2 separate regions of the Homo sapiens genome follow, and region 2 is linked to region 1. The links are contacts of gene promoters, found by promoter capture Hi-C in blood cells and fetal thymus (Javierre and others, 2016). All regions are on one chromosome and are shown on one strand. Each heading gives the region's core, a stretch centred on a gene start or on the middle of the fragment in contact. The rest is flanking DNA. Distances are from core to core; before and after follow the strand shown. Region 1 holds the start of APOA4 (apolipoprotein A4). Region 2 overlaps RNF214 (ring finger protein 214).

Region 1 (5,322 bases), core at 2,823-5,322:
CAGGGAGAAGCCAGTGGTAGATGGGAGGAAGAGGGGATTTGACCATCCGGGGCCAAAAATGGTCCTCTGGGGTTGGGCTGTTTCACCTTGTGTCCAGGTGAGGTTTAGTACATGAGCCCCCATGCTCCATGCCCTTCCCACCAGGCTGGGCTGGGCAGCCCTGATTCAGACCTGTTGGCCAGAGGCCCTTGTTCATCACACATCATCATGCCGGAAGTTCCTCCTAGTATCTCACCCAGCTCCCTCCTATGGCAACAGGAGCTGTCCTTCAGTTCTGCCCGGGGGAGGGCCCCTTGAAGCATACGTGAGGCACATGTCCGTGTGACCTGCCTGTCCCTGGCTGGATCTGAGTTGTCTGCTCCTGACTCTGACCTCTGGACTGACCCCTGGTTTGATCCCTGTGTGGTTGGCCAGGAGGGGTGGCTGTAGCTAATGCTGAGCTATCAGCCTCATTGCCTCACCAATCATTAAGTCTGCCTGTTGCACAGATAAGGAGAGGCTTGGAGAGGCGATGTCTCCCTCGAGATCACACAGGCCTTTCATGCCCACTAAGATGGACGTCCCTGACTCACAGGACCAGGCCTGGCTGGAAGGCAGTCTGCTCTTCCCATCAGCTACTTGCACCCTCTAAGACTGAGCACAGGGGGCTCTCATTCTCTCCCTGCTCCCCAAAACAAATCCATCTACAGATTGATGCAAAACGTACCCTCAGACTTTGGGAAGTAAATACATTCATTAACAGGTCACGTCCCCGCCACGTTGAAAGGCAGCAGGTCCCCTCGCGAGCGTGGGTGCACGCATGGGCTGTGCCAGTCCCTTGGTTCTTAGTGATTTGCACACTTCTGTGAATCCACACACACTCTGGTGGATGCTCTCGGACATGCTCAAATGGTGCAGGCGCTCCCAGCATGGGTGCACCCAGGCGGGCGGGTGAGACAGAAGCGCCTCTGGACCTCTCACATGCTAGTGGCACCGGCTGCTAGGACTGTAAGTCCTGGAGGTCAAACTGCGGCTGAGGTGTCATTCGTGACTCAGTCTCCTCCTCCCCTCTGGCCTGGGGAAGGGACAGGGGCACTGAGTACTGACCTTTGCTCCCGCTGCAAGCTGGACTGTGCCTGATTCAGGAGCAGGGTTGGGACCGATGGGTTCCAGGGAGGTGAGCCTTGCAGGAGTAAGACGTGGCTAACATTTAGTGATCACTTTTCCTATGTGCCAGACATTGTTGCAAGCACTATAAGATCATCTCAGTGAATCCTCACAGCCTAGGAGGCAGGTACAATGGTTATGTCTCACCAAGGTAACTGAGGCTCAGAGAGGTTATGAGACTTGCCCAAGGACACACAGGCAGTACGTGTTGGAGCCTGGATGCCAAGCCAGGGAGTGGACTCCAGCATCTGACCCCAACAATCACGGAGAGATGGCACAGGCTGCATCAAAAAGGAGGCAGCATGGTAGCGTGGGGACCACTACAGGGCAGTGGGGACCCAGCAGAAGGGGTGCCAGAGTCAGGAGGTCATTTGACTGCCTTTGACCCTAGGAAACATTAAGCCACTTCTGGAAACTGAAAAAATGAACACAAAGCAAATTAGAGTTAGTACAATTGTGGTCTACTCTGATGGCGTTCATTTTTACAAATAAATGTAGCTCACTGTTGTCAGGCACTGCACTCACCGACAGGAGCCAATAGTGCAACGTGCCTGGATGTCACCTCATAGTCACTAGGAGTGGTGTGGTCCGGCAGAGGGACCCATGCTGACGTGGTGTGTCACCTTCTCAGTGGATGTTTGTGTGTGATTATGCATGCAGCCTCATTTAGAGATCCAATAGACATCTAAGTAGAAGACCTCCTGGGCACCACCACCATTGCCCTCCATCCCCCAATGGGAGGTCCCCTGAGAGCCTCAGGTCCCAAGATTCTGCTCAAGCCAGCTGCTCCTGCCCAGGGAGTGTGGCTGGGGGGCAAGAAGGGCAGGAGTCAGGCCTCAGGCTGGTCCCACCCATCACCCTGCCTCTGGCCCACCTGGCGCCCCTCAGAGGGCTGAGTCTCACTCTGCCACTCTCACTAGAGGAGGGAGCACTCTGCTACCCTCCCTGCTTTGCTCCAAATCAGGAACACAGTATGATTATTATACAGTATGATTATTATAATAACAGCAACTATTTTTCAGAGCTTACTCTGTGCCAGGAGCTCTATAGGCAGCCCTCTGTATCCTTGGTTTCTGTGTCCATGGATTCAACCAACCTTGGATTGAAAATAATTTTTTAGGCCGGGCGTGGTGGCTCACGCCTGTAATCTCAGCACTTTGGGAGGTTGAGGCGGGCGGATCACGAGGTCAGGAGATCGAGACCATCCTGGCTAACACGGCGAAACCCCATCTCTACTAAAAATACAAAAAAAAAAAAAAAAATTAGCCGGGCGTGGTGGCGGGCGCCTATGGTCCCAGCTACTTGGGAGGCTGAGGCAGGAGAATGGCGTGAACCCGGGAGGCAGAGCTTGCAGTGAGCCGAGATCGTGCCACTGCACTCCAGCCTGGGTGACAGAGCAAGACTCCATCTCAAAAAAAAAAAAAAAAAAAAAAATATATATATATATATATATATATTTTTTTTTTTAAATTGCATCTGTGGGCCGGGTGCAGTGGCTCATGCCTGTAAGCCCAGCATTTTAGGAGGCAGAGATTGGAGGATCACTTAAGGCCAGGAGTTGGAGACCAGCCTGAGCAACATAGCGACACCCCATCTCCATTAAAAACAATGTTTTAAAAAAATTGCATCTGGGCAGGGCGCAGTGGCTCACGCCTATAAGCCCAGCACTTTGGGAGGCCCACATGGGAGGATTGCTTGAGGCCAGGAGTTGGAGACCAGCCTGAGCAACATGGTGAAACCCCGTCTCTGCTGTAAATACACAAATTAGCTGGGCGTGGTGGTGGGTGCCTGTAATCCCAGCTACTCAGGAGGCTGAGGCAGGAGAATCACTTGAACCTGGGGGGCAGAGATTGCAGTGAGCTAAGATCGTGCCACTGCACTCCAGCCTGGGTGACAGAGTAAGACTCCATCTCAAAAAAAAAAAAAATTGCACCTGTACTAAACATATACAGACTTTTTTGGTGATTACCTCCTAAACAATACAGTATAACAACCATTCACACAGCATTTCCGTCGTATTAGGTATTATAAGTAATCTAGAGATTTAAAGTATGTGGGAGGCTGTGCTTAGGTTATATGCAAATACTATGCCATTTTATATCAAGGACTTGAACATCCATGGATTTTGGTATCTGCAGAGGGTCCTGGAATCAATTTCCCATGGAGACTGAGAGATGACCGTACTACCCACTTCGCAAGCAATGTCTTCTTTAATGTACTGAACCATCCCATTGTTCAGAGGAGAAACTGAAGCTCAGGGCTTTGAATAACTAGACCAAGGAGGCACAGCATGGGAGTGGGACATGAAGCACTCTACAATTAACCCTTTCAGGACAAGGCCCTGTCTCCCACACCCATCTGCCCAAAGGCTCTCCAGGGCCCCCTCCTCTTGGGTGTACCTTGACAAGAGACCTAGATTTTAGCTCACTATGCTGTCTGCAGTCCTGGATGGTCCCACTCCAGTGTCTGGTGCTCTGAGATGGAGTCAGCATTAGTGGCGGATGTGGAGACTGGGGGGACCTGTCTTCACTGGGGTAGACAGAGGAGATGTGGACTTTGCCCCCCATGAGCCCGGCACAAACCCAGAGCCGCCAGCAGGGCCTCGAGGCATCAGTCCCGGGCTCATGGGCTCCCTGAGGTGTTTCTCCTACTGTTTTCCGTTCCCCTCCTCCCTTCCATGCTGAGGTTGGTGGGGTGGGGGTGGGGGTGCCCACGCACGGAACAGCCACCACTTCTAACTATCGCCTGAGCCCTGATCTGCTGTCAGCTTCCACGTAGTCTCAGGGTCACAAAAGTCCAAGAGGCCTCTTGGGAATGTGTCACCTTCCAGCGTGGAGTCACACTGAGGAAGGAGGAGGGGAGGGCAGCCAGGGGGGTGGCGATAGGGAGAGAGTTTAAATGTCTGGCTGGCTCTGAGCTTCAGTCAGTTCCCACTGCAGCGCAGGTGAGCTCTCCTGAGGACCTCTCTGTCAGCTCCCCTGATTGTAGGGAGGATCCAGTGTGGCAAGAAACTCCTCCAGCCCAGCAAGCAGCTCAGGATGTTCCTGAAGGCCGTGGTCCTGACCCTGGCCCTGGTGGCTGTCGCCGGTGAGTAGAAGCTGTCTTTGGATGGCACTCCTGGGCTGCTGCTCTGAGTAGTGCAGGATGGAGGCTGAGCCAAAGCAAAAGGACACTTCTGAGTGCCCATCAGCCCCCAGCTGGACATGAGGTCTGCCTGGCTGCCAAGTGGCTCACAGGAGAGCTGGCCCAGTCCCAGTGGTGGGCCCATTGGCATTGGTGCTATACCAGTTTCACATATCCCTGTGGCTTCCAAAAAGCTAAGCTCAGACAGGGAAAATGGCAGGTTGAGGCACCCCCACCATCATCCAGTCTGCAGCTCAGAGCTGGAGCAGAGGGGCCACACAGGAGACGGGGCCTCATGAATTGCTCTCTGTTACCACCCAGGAGCCAGGGCTGAGGTCAGTGCTGACCAGGTGGCCACGGTGATGTGGGACTACTTCAGCCAGCTGAGCAACAATGCCAAGGAGGCCGTGGAACATCTCCAGAAATCTGAACTCACCCAGCAACTCAAGTAAGAGGGACTACAGTGTGCGGTGGTGACGGGGAATTCTTAAAGGCCATGCAATGTACTGGCAAGGGTTGAGCTTAGAGACAGGAGCCCTGAGCTTAGGATACCCACTGCCCTGCCACTAACTGGCCGGGCCTCTGAACCTAGGATCCACATATGTAAACCGGAAGTTTGGACCGAATAATCCCTGCCATGTCCTTTTGCTTTGACGTTCTAGAGTTTGACAAATGGCCACATCCTATCATTCAGGCTCATGGAAGAGAGGGAGGGAGGAAAATGTCACGTGAGCTGATTTCTAATACGTTTCAGAAAGACAGGCCCCAGTGGAATCAAGGGGAGGGAGGTGGGAATATTTGGGAGGCCCCTGGGCACAGGCAAGGAAAGCAGCACCTTGTGCCACTGGAAGACCCCAGCAGAGGTCAAGAAGACAACATTGTGTTACACAATGTGATCCTATGGCCCAGAACACTCCCTCTGGGAAGGACCTCAAAGTCCCACCCTCTGCAGACAAGGAGGGGAAAGCAAACTGCTGGAGGTGACATGGTGGGTAGATTCTGAGACAAACTATGTGGGAGATCCTGAGATAGAAATTCAGCATCGTAACTTAG
Region 2 (5,322 bases), core at 956-3,455, 430 kb before region 1:
GTTGTCTTGTTGTTGTTGTCGTTTATTTATTTATTTATTTTTTATAGAGATAAGGTCTCACTATATTGCCCAGGCTGGTCTCAAACTCCTGGGCTCAAGCAATCCTCCCGCCTTGGCCTCCCAAAGTGCTGGGATTACAGGCATAAGCCATCGCACCTGCACACAATAAGTCACTGTTAAAGGTAGGGAGCTTAAAAGAGGTTCTGCACTGGAAGAGCACTAACAGGGAAACCTCACCTTTCTAATGCCAGCAATAACCTGAAGGATAAAAGCTGAGAACTAGAAATTATCCCTGCAAAAGCAAGACAATTTCCAGGACAAAGCAGCCAGGTGTCCAGGAGAAAAAAAATCAAATACATGACTAAACTAAATATTTGATCTTTTACACTTTGGTAAATTCAGTTTGTCTCCTTTAAAAATTATAATTAGACCAGGCACAGTGGTTCACGCCTGTAATCCTAAAATTTTGAGAGGTCAAGGGCAGGAGTTTGAGATCAGCCTGGCCAACAAACTGAGATCCAGTCTCTACAAAACAGAAAAACTTAGATGGGCATGGTGGTGCACACCTGTAGTCCCAGCTACTTGGGAAGCTGAGGCAGGAGGATGGCTTGAGCTCAGGAGTTCAAGGCTTTAGTGAGCCATGACTGTACCACTACACTCTAGCTGGGCCAACAGAGTGAGATCCTGTTTCTAAAAATAAAAAAATTATAATTACATTGAAATACATAGTGACTACCTTCAAATAGTACAAAGCACTTAGCAGATTTCTATTAAGTAAATTCATCTTTAATTAATATTAATGTGAAATTCCCTTAATTTCCAATCCAGTGATAGAATAAACACTTATCAAATAATTACCAGATATATGGCACTAAAAGAATAAAACATTAAAAAAAATTTCAGGCCAGGTGAGGCGGCTCATGCCTGTAATCCCAGCACTTTGGGAGGCCAAGGCGGGCGGAACAGGAGGTCAGGAGAGCGAGACCATCCTGGCTAACACAGTGAAACCCCGTCTCTACTAAAAATACAAAAAATGAGCTGGGCGTGGTGGCAGGCACATGTAGTCCCAGCTACTCGGGAGGCTGAGGCAGGAGAATCGCTTGAATCCGGGAGGTGGAGACTGCAGTGAACCAAGATCACGCCACTGCGCTCCAGCCTGGGCGACAAAGCAAGACTCCGTCTCAAAAAAAAAAAATTCAGATTCAGTTCATAAAGAAATGGCACAGGCAATTTTGCAAAGAAGGCAGAATTTAAGTTAAAACGTATAAGACAGATAAGACATCTTATCAAAGAATCCCATTATTTCCCTAATTTTCCAAGCCAGAAATATGGGAGTTATCCCTAACTCAACCCTGTCTACCCACATTGATCAGTGCTGCCCCTAAATGTCTTACAAATGTGTTCACTTCTCTCATTCCCACTGGCACTACTTTAGTTTCAGCCATAATTATGCTAACCTAGGCTCTGACAAGATAAGTCTCCTAACTGGTCAAATACACTAATCCAATCCATTTTCCAACTGCCCAAGTAATCTACTGAAAATGCAAATCATAGGCCAGGCAGGATGGCTCACACCTGTAATCCCAGAACTTTGGGAGGCCAAGGCGGGCACATCACTTGAGGTCAGGTGTTCAAGACTAGCCTGGCCAACATGGTGAAACCTCGTCTCTACTAAAAATACAAAAATTAGTCGGGCGTGGTGGCACAGGCCTGTAGTTCCAGCTACTCAGGAGGCTGAGGCAGGAGAATCACTTGAACACAGGAAGTGGAGGTTGCAGTGAGCCAAGATCGTGCCACTGCACTCCTGCCTGGGCAACAGAGTGAGACTCTGTCTCAAAAAATGAAAAAGTAAAATAAAATAAAAATAAAATGCAAATTGTATCATTTGATACTCTCCTCCCTTAAAATCCTTCAATATCTCTATCATGGAAAAACCCAAACTCCTTAACACAGTATAAAAGCCTTTCTGATCTGGCCTCACTCCCCCACTTCACGTCTTGCTTGCTTTTCTCTCACATCTCTGAGCCCCCTGCCGGCAGTGTCTTTTCCTTCATTTGTTGCCTGGCTAATTCTTCCCTATACCTACCCTGACCCCTGCTACTTTTTCTTCGAAAATTTCAAACCAAGAAAAAGTTAATAAAATAATAAAATGACCCGGCCAGCCGCCCCGTCCGGGAGGGAGGTGGGGGGGTCAGCCCCCCGCCCGGCCAGCCGCCCCGTCCGGGAGGGAGGTGGGGGGGTCAGCCCCCCGCCCGGCCAGCCGCCCCGTCCGGGAGGGAGGTGGGGGGGTCAGCCCCCCGCCAGGCCAGCCGCCCCGTCCGGGAGGGAGGTGGGGGGGTCAGCCCCCCGCCCGGCCAGCCGCCCCGTCCGGGAGGTGAGGGGCGCCTCTGCCCGGCCGCCCCTACTGGGAAGTGAGGAGCCCCTCTGCCCGGCCAGCCGCCCCGTCCCGGAGGGAGGTGGGGGGGTCAGCGGGGTCAGCCCCCCGCCCGGCCAGCCGCCCCGTCCGGGAGGTGCGGGGCGCCTCTGCCCGGCCGCCCCTACTGGGAAGTGAGGAGCCCCTCTGCCAGGCCACCACCCCGTCTGGGAGGTGTACCCAACAGCTCGTTGAGAACGGGCCATGATGACAATGGCGGTTTTGTGGAATAGAAAGGGGGGAAAGGTGGGGAAAAGATTGAGAAATTGGATGGTTGCCGTGTCTGTGTAGAAAGAGGTAGACATGGGAGACTTTTCATTTTGTTCTGTACTAAGAAAAATTCTTCTGCCTTGGGATCCTGTTGATCTGTGACCTTACCCCCAACCCTGTGCTCTCTGAAACATGTGCTGTATCCACTCAGGGTTGAATGGATTAAGGGCGGTGCAAGATGTGCTTTGTTAAACAGATGCTTGAAGGCAGCATGCTCGTTAAGAGTCATCACCACTCCCTAATCTCAAGTACCCAGGGACACAAACACTGCGGAAGGCCGCAGGGTCCTCTGCCTAGGAAAACCAGAGACCTTTGTTCACTTGTTTATCTGCTGACCTTCCCTCCACTATTGTCCTGTGACCCTGCCAAATCCCCCTCTGCGAGAAACACCCAAGAATGATCAATAAAAAAAAAAAATTAAAAAAAAAATAAATAAATAAATAAATAAAAATAATAAAATGAATGTCTACCTGTCATCTAAATTTACCAGTTGTTGCATTTTTTTTGCCACATTTACATCATGACACTTAACTCCTAAAACTTCAGCAAGTATCTCTTATGAACAAGAACATCCTTCTACATAATGAAACAATGTCATAATCACATGTAAAATATTTTTTTAATTTCTTAAACTTTTTTCAACAACATGGGTTTATACACCCAAAATACATAACACTGACACAGTATTACTTAACACGTAGTCACTATTGAAATTTTCCCAATTATTCCAAAATGTCCTATAATTATACTTTGTTTAATTCAGGATCAAACCAAGGATCATGCATTTCATTTGGTGGTTATCTTCTGCCCCTTATTTTTCAGGACTCAGTTCTGGAATGATATTCCCTGGGAAGCCCTCTGTGACTCCCCCTACCCAGTATGGGTTATATGCCTCTTTCAGATGCTTTCATACCACCACTGTCATGGTATCATTACACTATTTTGCAATCATCTGTTTATCTATGTCTCTCACAATAAACAGTAATCTCTTTGAAGACTTTTTACTCTCCAGGCCCTACTGTCTGGCTCATAGTAGATACTCAATAAATGCTGGCTGAACAAATGAATGAAAACACTATAAACAGGAAATACAATTGTTATGGACTGAATTGTGCCCCTTAAAACTCGTATCTTGAAGCCCTAACCCCAGTGTAATTGTATTTGGATACAGGGCCTTGAAGGAGGCAATTATGGTTAAATGAAGTCATAAAGTGGGAACCTAATCCAATAGAATTGGTGTCCTTATAAGAGGAAGAGACACCAGGAATGTGCATGCATAGCACAAAAGCCATGTGAGACCAGAAGAAGGCAGCTGTCGGCAAACCAGGAAAAGATTCTCACCAGAAACCAAACCTGCCAGCATCTTTATGTCGGATTTCCAGCCTCCAAGAACTGTAAAATATTCTGCTGTTTAAGCCACGTAGTCAGTGGTATTCTGTTATGGCAGGCCAAGGTGAATAATATAATGACCAAAATCTATGTGTCCCGGTTCCTATGAATGATGGAATGCTAAGCAGAACCTACACCACTGCTAGAACAAAGATACCTACAAGAGACATTCCCCCTGCTTCCGGAAAACTGAACCCCACATTTAACAGAAAGAATGGCAGAAAACATTATTCTCACACCGTGACATATACATTTAAAGAAAAAAAATGGATCTTCAAGAACACAAACACCAAAATTATTAGTATCAATCACCATCTGTAGCAATTCAATCAGATGGAAAAGGTAGTAGAGTTACATAAAGAATGTAAAGAGTAAAAGTGAGTTTGTTGAAGGTAAAAAACAATAAAAATTAAAAATTAAAAAAAGGCTGGGCACGGTAGCTCACACCTGTAATCCCAGCACTTTGGGAGGCCAAGGCAGGTGGATCGCTTGAAGCCAGAAGTTTGAGATTAGCCTGGTCAACGAGTGAGATTCTCATCTCTATAAAAAAATTTAAAAAATTATCTGGGCATGATGGCACTCGCCTGTAATCCCAGATACTCAGGTGACTGAGGCAAAAGAATCACTTGAACCCGGGAGGTGGAGCTTGCATGAGCCGAGATTGCGCCACTGCACTCCAGCCTGGGCAACAGAGCAAGACTGTCTCAAAAAAAAAAAGAATGTAAAGAACACACATCAAAAGGAAATTTTCTGCGGGGCTTAGAATAACATTATAGACTCATCTTCCCAGTTTCTGCACTTTAATATCTCCTGTTAAGTTGCTACATGCCTATGGTCATCTTCCTCACACAGATTGTGAAGACAATGGCAGAGACCATGTCATGGGGTGGGAGCAACTGCTTTGATCACTAACAGTGGCTGGGATAATGTTCTATTCCAGGTACACTCCTCATAATTTCTGGAAAATTATCATTATAGACAACTGACCCACCTTCTAATCATTCAGTATCACTAGATTCTCAACAGAACAACTGATTGGTCTACAAGCCCTCTCTCAAACACAATTCCTCATGTTGAGCTTCACAATTATTATCTTGGAGACTCAGAAAATGATTCAGCACATGAGCTTGCTAACTCAGCAGTCTGACGCATTAGCAAAAGCCAAAATTTTTTTGATAAACAAAAAACATTTTGGTAGAATTTAAATAAAATCAACCGAGTATTCACAGCTATTATGATTTCCAAACAGG

Evidence for each region. The method cuts DNA at HindIII sites, captures the fragments that hold promoters and counts their contacts. A CHiCAGO score of 5 or more calls a contact.
Region 2: a fragment that was not itself captured here is called in contact with the fragment with the promoter of APOA4 in region 1 in 1 of 17 cell types (naive CD8 T cells); the score reaches 6.3 in naive CD8 T cells.

Annotation. Positions count from the first base shown.
Region 1 is chr11:116,822,054-116,827,375 of GRCh38, reverse strand. APOA4 (apolipoprotein A4) reads left to right here and starts at 4,072. Exons shown (of 3, transcript NM_000482.4): 1 at 4,072-4,233; 2 at 4,591-4,717. The coding sequence starts at 4,185. RefSeq lists enhancers at 1,569-1,863, 1,718-2,084. The HindIII fragment of the contact is 18,172 bases long and covers 1-5,322 here.
Region 2 is chr11:117,248,400-117,253,721 of GRCh38, reverse strand. All of the region lies in intron 6 of RNF214 (ring finger protein 214), which reads right to left. Among named protein-coding and RNA genes, the nearest start is that of RNF214, 18 kb to the right of the region's middle. The HindIII fragment of the contact is 9,181 bases long and covers 1-5,322 here.